Regions from separate parts of the Homo sapiens genome. Here region 1 is linked to region 2. The links are contacts of gene promoters, found by promoter capture Hi-C in human tissues and cell types (Jung and others, 2019). All regions are on one chromosome and are shown on one strand. Each heading gives the region's core, a stretch centred on a gene start or on the middle of the fragment in contact. The rest is flanking DNA. Distances are from core to core; before and after follow the strand shown.

Region 1 (3,548 bases), core at 329-2,828, 96 kb after region 2:
TCTACATGCCAATAGTGAACAATTTGAAAACAAAATCAAAAAAGTAATCCCACTTACAAAGGTCACACATAAAATTAAATACCTGAAAATTAACTCAGCCAAAGAGATGAAATAGCTCTATAATGAAAACTATAAAACTCTAATGAAAGAAATGGAAAAGGACACCCAAAAAAAGAAAAGATAGTCCATGTTCATGGATTAGAAGTATCAACATTGTTAAAATGGCCATACTACCCAAAGAATCTACAGATTCAATGCAATTCCTATCAAAATACCAAAAACATTCTTCACAGAAATAGAGAAAACAATCCTAAAATTTATATAGAGCCACAACTGACCCAGAATAGCCAAAACTATCCTAAGAAAAAAGAACAAAACTGAAGGAATCATGTTACTTGACTTCATATGATACTTACTACTGAGGCTACAGAAACCAAAACAGCATGTACTGGCATTAAAACTGACACATAGAACGATGGAACAGAACAGACAACTCGGAAACAAACCCACACACCTACAGTGAACTCATTTTTGAAAAAGATGCCAAGAACGTACACTGGAAAAAGACAGTCTCTTCAATAAATGGTGCTGGGACAACTGAATATCCATATGCAGAAGAATGAAACTAGGCCCATATATCTATACAAATATCAAATCAAAATGGATTAAAGATGTATGATTAAGATCTCAAACCATGAAGCTCCCATAAGAAAACATCAGAGAAACTCCCCAGGACATTGGTTTGAGCAAAAATTTCTTAAGTAGTAATACCCTACAAGTACAGGCAACCAAGTAAAAAATGCACAATTGGGATCACATCAAGTTAAAAAATACTTCTGCACAGCAAAGGTATGATCAACAAAGTGAAGAGACAATCCACAGAATAGGAGAAAATATTTGCAAACTACTCATCTGGCAAGGGATTAATAACCAGAATATAAAAGGAGCTTAAACAACTGTATAGGAAAAAAAATCTAACAATCTGATCAAAAAAATGGGTGAAATATTTGGATAGTCATTTCTCAAAACAAGATATACGAATGTCAAACAGACATGTGAAAAGGTGCTCAACATCATTGATCATCAGAGAAATGCAAATCAAAACTAAAATAAGATATCATCTCATCCCAGTTAAAACAGCTTATATACAAAAGACAGGTAGTAACAAATGCTGGTGAGGATGTGGAGAAACGGGAACCACTGTACACCGCAGGTGGGAATATAAATTAGTAAAACCACTATGGAAAACAGTTTAAAGGTTTCTCAAAAGACTAAAATTAGAGTTACCATATGATCCAGCAATCTCGCTGGTGGGTATATACCCAAAAGAAAGGAAGTAAGTGTATCAAACAGGTATCCACACTCCCATGTTTGTTGTAGCACTGTTCACAATAGCCAAGATTTGGAAGCAATCAAAGTGTCCAGCAACAGATGAATAGATAAAGAGAAGGTGGTATGGCCGGGGGCGGTGGCTGACACCGGTAATCCCAGCACTTTGGGAGGCCGAGGTGGGTGGATCATGAGGTCAAGAGATTGAGACCATCCTGGCCAACATGGTGAAACCCCATCGCTACTAAAAATACAAAAAAATTAGCTGGGCGTGGTGGCTGGCGCCTGTAGTCCCAGCGACTCAGGAGGCTGAGGCAGGAGAACCACTTGAACCTGGGAGGCTGAAGTTGCAGTGAGCCGAGATTGCGCCACTGCACTCCAGCCTGGAGACAGAGCGAGACTCCATCTCAAAAAAAAAAAAAAAAAAAAAAAAAAGAGGGAGAGAGAATGTGGTACATATACACAGTGGAGTACTATTCAGCCATTTAAAAAATGAGATCCTGTCATTTGCAGCAATACGGATGGAATTGGAGATTATTATGTTAAGTTGAATAAGTAAAAAATAACTGCAATGTTTGTGCAGAAAGGCAAGCATTGCACTTTCTCACTCATCTGTGGTATCTAAAAATCAAAACAATTGAACTCGTGGACATAGAGAGTACATAGATGGTTAACAAAGGCTAGGAAAGGTAGTGGGGGCTAAAGGGAAGGTGTGGCTGGTTAATGGCTACCAAAAAAAAAAAATAGAAAGAGTGAATGAGACCTACTATTTGATACCACAGCAGAGTGACTATAGTCAATGATAATTTAGCTGTACATTTTAACGTAACTAAAAGAGTATAACTGGATTGTTTGTAACAAAAAAGAGTAAATGTTTGAGGGGATGGCTACCCCATTCTTATGTGATTATTACTCTTTGCATGCCTGTATCAACACATCCCGTGTACTCAATACAGACCTACTATATATCCACAAAACTTAAAAATACATTAAAAAAAAAGAAATTCCTAAACTTCCCATACCTGTTTACTGATAAGGTAAACTAATATGCCCACATAATGTTAAAATACCAAAAAATGTAAAATTATGTTTTCAAACAAACTGAATACAAATTATGAAAAATTCCACATATTGACAGTAATTATTTTCTGTAGCCTATTGTCTTAAATTTAATTTCCAAGATTCCTAGTTCAAGACCTTAGACTAATATTAGATTCAGTGACTTCATGAAAATCTTTGGATAATTACTAGTTAAGATGGAATACTGAAATGTGGTCACCAATCACGGGTTATATAAATAAATAACTAAATGTAACTTTTATATTTTATGGACTGGCTATTTGTTTGGATTACATTAACAAACATGGGAGTTTTGTATGCCAATTCAAGCAAGTGTAAAAAGGATGTATATGACTATAGAAAGTTGTAATATATGTGCTTGAGAATTTTGCACATCTGCCAAAATACTTATTTTTAATAGTCCTCAATTACATAACTTCCAGTTTCCTCTTTGAAAGAGAATTACTTTGATTAATGTAATGAATAAAAGTAGGAGTTAGAACCATGGTAGAAACAAGAATGGACAAGGAATATGACTGTTATGAAAGGTAATGGAATGTAGTTTGGGTTTTCAAGAAAAGAGTATCTTTGCCTAAAGTAATGTGTTTTGTTGCTATTTCTGTCCTCACTGTGCTTGATGATAACTGAAATCAATTTTATTATTTTAGCTGGGCTTCATGAAGTCTGCCTATACATGTGTGGTGTAGGGACCAGACAAAGCTTTGGATAGTTTATAGTCAGAAGCTGGGGCTCCCCTTTTCTGGACTTCTCCTTTCTCAGATTTTCTCCTGATCTCCTGCGGCTCATGTTACCCTAAACTCAGTCCTCTGTTACTTCAACCCAGTAACTCTACAGCTTTTTTACTGACGTTTTAGTCCTCTGCCTGGTGCACACTAGGGCCAGCTATAAAATCAGGAAACTCACTCCTTGCTATTTCCTTCTTCCAAGTGTCAACTGCTTTTCAGTATCGGCCTATTTTGTTCATTCTCCATTGCCTTCAGATGGCTGTTTTTTTTTTAAATATTTTATCCAGAATTTATAGAAAGTATCTGTGGGAGGTTTGGTCCTATGGGTGTTATTTGATCATTAGTGTAAGCAAAAAATGTTGTGTATATATTTTTACTGCTTATCATGTTTTCCTTTTTCTTTGGCCCACTATT
Region 2 (3,472 bases), core at 44-2,543:
TCTTCATAAAAGCTGTACGTTCTTAATTATAAAGAGAGATAATAAATTCTTCAAATGAAATACTATACAATGAACTATAATAAAATATAAATACTATATATGTGAAATATACTCAGCTTCATAATTTATGGTCAACGTTGTTATTCACACACATGCACACATATACACCCATAAATATATATATGACTTTTCTAGGTATCTGTTTTGAAATTACTCACATACAAACACTATGGAAAAACTGATAGAAATATAAAATGTTCCAGACACCATCAGTTTGTTTTCTGCTAGAAGACCCACGATGCTCCCCTTGTGAATCTATGGAGTTGAGGGTTTCTCTTCTTTCACTCAGCGTGTCATCTGCCACAAAACTGAAAGAAAGGTCTGTTTTAGCTTCCTACTTCCCATAATCAGGATGAATGAGTGGAATGAAGGATACATGATTGCAACAGTTTGGCAAAGCAGGAGTACAAGTTTGCTCTGCTGTGTCCTAAGATTCCAAGTTGATGTGATTATACACAGAAAGTAAATGGCAAATAACATGAGGAAGGAGGTCACAGTTTGCAAAGCTTTTATATGGACCTTGGTGCTGGGATCTTGAGATCCTTTGCTATGGAGCCGCATCTTCTTGAGATGTTTACAAAGAGAACAGATTAACAGCAGAAAACATATTAGGCTCAGAGTAAAGGGTATGAGGTTTGCTAGAGTAGTTACAGTCAAGCTTGAAAGGTGTATTGCATTCCTCAATTTGATCTTCCAAGTCACATTTCCTTCATATTCTTTTGTCCACACTCTCTCATCCATGGTTATCACAGCAAGATTACAAATCAGAAATACCAAGGGCCCCAACAGTATCACCAGAACAACACTCTTAATTCTCTTCTTTAGGTGGAGAGAAATAAGGTTGGAGAAATTGGCAATCTTGAGCAAACAAAATATGCTGAGGCTAGCAGCAAGCCACATGCTGAAATGGTTCGTTACAGCCCAGGCATTAGAAGCAACAATTCTTACTTCTAAACCATATAAAGCAGAATTAAACACAGTTGCATACCAAAGGAATAACATGACCCAGAGTAAACCAATTCTGGAGACCACCAGAGCAGTGAGAATTTGCTCAGCTGAGGAGATCTTTCGTGTGTTAACCCAGTCAATGACATTTACTAGGGCTATGAAGCCATTGGCAACATTTCCAAGAACAAATGCAAACACTACCAGAATTGATGAAATGATGAGCAGAAAACACATCATGTTTGAACAGATAAAAAAATGCAGGCTTAGTAACACTTGTTCTGAGTCCTTTAACATCCAGATGTTAACTTCGATGAACACTTGATTACTAAATGTGCAATAACATTTTCTGCCTTTAAATTCAGTGACTAGTGTCAACAGGCAAGCACCAGCATATGCTAATAGATGAATTCAAAACTGTCTTTATAGAAATAGAAAAGGTCATTATTCTCAAAACAGCTCAAATTCACTCCTCTTCATATACATTCTCTCCTTGCTATATGCTGTACTTTTTTATACTGAGGTTGAAGTGGAAAATGAATTCTCATGTGTTAGTATGCAAAGAAAGGCATATTATTTTTCATTGTTTTGCAATTTTTTTCCTTGTTTAACCTCTCCATAATTTGTATACAGCATCTTCAGTTGTTCCATAGGGAAATTGTAAAACCCAATACATATATCATATAGTAAATGTCTAAATTGTTAAAGGAGCTTGGTCATAACTAGGATCATACCAATATGGACTTATTTTTATGCCAGATTTAAATACCAGATTCTAAACCTTTTATCAAAATCATCCAAGATTATCTTGGAAATCCCTGGGAGGCTGATACACTTTAAAATCTGGTTTCTGATAACCAATAAATTGATATGACATCATTGTTAATAAGCTCCTAAACACATAGACACACATGCACTCACACCCTTAGGGCATGGAAGGAATTATTTTCTTATAATTCCCCAAATGGAAAATGAGTTTCCAGGAACTCATCCAGGTGGTATTAGTCTTATTTTCCAACTCAGGGCTGTCAGACAATGAATAATATTTATCAAACATGTTTCTCAAGCTTAGGCCTTTGGTATATTTACACTCAAGTCTGTTTTGTTTAAACATTAATTATTTAATTAAAATGTTCAGCAATTTTGTAAATATTTCTAAGTACCCTACTCTTTGTCACATAATCCTGCAGTACCCTCCCACCTCAGGCAGGGTGACTACCTTGACCTTGGACTCTGAATTCACTCACGTAATTTGCTTCAGTCAACAGGAAATTAGTAGAATTTACAGAGATTTAAGATGGCTTCCATATTGAAGTTTCCTGCTCTTTTCCACTAACCATGAGGACATCATCTGGCTAGCACACTGTTCCCAGAAGAAGAAAGAGAAACTAATGGAGTCAGAATGCCACTGCCTTATCTACCCTAAATCAGCCAAACTAGCGGCAAGATGCAGTACGTGGCCCATCTCCAATCACCAGAGCCATCCACCAAACCTAGGTTAGAAAAATGTAATCCAAAGACATAATGATACACAATTATCTAACTCAGTTTTCTCTTGCAGAAAAACATAAGTGATGTAGGTATTCTGCTAAATCAGGAGTGTGGGAAATATGCCCACCATTGTTGTGTCAGGAATTCAGGATCGAAGGAAAAAATAGAGAATGTCCAAGTTTTGTCATATGAAGTGGGTAATTAAACCTAAAAGAAAAACCTATTCAGAAATCTGTGGTTGGCAGGTAACATCATGTCAAGTTTCCTAAAGTTGCAACTAAAATCAGAAAGTTTCTACTTAAAATCTCTTAGAGTTACACATGAATGTATACAAATAGTGGATTTTTCCCTTCAGTATATAATGAGCAGAGTAATAATAATTTTCATGGACCATTTCTCCTAATTAATAATTTTTATCATATAGCTAGACTGCACACTTAGAAATGAACCAAAACAAAAATGGAAAACATAGCAATGTGTCATAAACACTCATGTAACCATCATGTAGGGCAAGACATGGAACATTGCTAAGAGCCTAAGTTTACCTCAATGCCACTTTCTAATTCCCTACACCTTTCTTCATGTCTCCTGTGATAAGCAACATCCCTAATTTATGATGGTCTTTTTTTAATATTCTTTATACTTTACCAATAAGGTATTCGACCCTAAACTCAATAGCTTGGTTTGGCCTGATTTGATCTATGTATAGGTGCAATCCTATATGTTCTTATTCATGGCTTCCTGGAATCAACATTTTGTATCCAAAATTTAACCCCATCATTGCATGTACATGTGATCCATATCTTTTCACTTCTCTATATTTTTTTCATTTTTTGATTTTACTGTAATTATTTATCCATCCTTATTTGATATATATTTGGACAGCTTATTTTTTGAGCTTTTATGAATAATGCTACAATGAACATTCTTTCACATATCATTTGCTACAATTCCTCTGTGTATATATATCTGGGTG

Evidence for each region. The method cuts DNA at HindIII sites, captures the fragments that hold promoters and counts their contacts. A contact is called where the count stands out against the background at its distance.
Region 1: a contact is called between a fragment that was not itself captured here and the fragment with the promoter of TAS2R19 in region 2, in 9 of the 25 tissues and cell types used here (aorta, bladder, heart left ventricle and 6 more).

What each region holds. Positions count from the first base shown.
Region 1 is chr12:11,117,256-11,120,803 of GRCh38, forward strand. The region is part of intron 1 of PRH1-TAS2R14 (PRH1-TAS2R14 readthrough); the gene reads right to left. All of the region lies in intron 1 of PRH1-PRR4 (PRH1-PRR4 readthrough), which reads right to left. It also overlaps a transcript of PRH1 not described here. Among named protein-coding and RNA genes, the nearest start is that of TAS2R30, 16 kb to the right of the region's middle. The HindIII fragment of the contact is 6,748 bases long and covers 1-3,548 here.
Region 2 is chr12:11,021,327-11,024,798 of GRCh38, forward strand. TAS2R19 (taste 2 receptor member 19) reads right to left here and starts at 1,294. Exons shown (of 1, transcript NM_176888.2): 1 at 293-1,294. The coding sequence starts at 1,245. The coding sequence ends at 346. The region is part of intron 3 of PRH1-TAS2R14 (PRH1-TAS2R14 readthrough); the gene reads right to left. All of the region lies in intron 3 of PRH1-PRR4 (PRH1-PRR4 readthrough), which reads right to left. It also overlaps a transcript of PRH1 not described here. The HindIII fragment of the contact is 6,813 bases long and covers 1-3,472 here.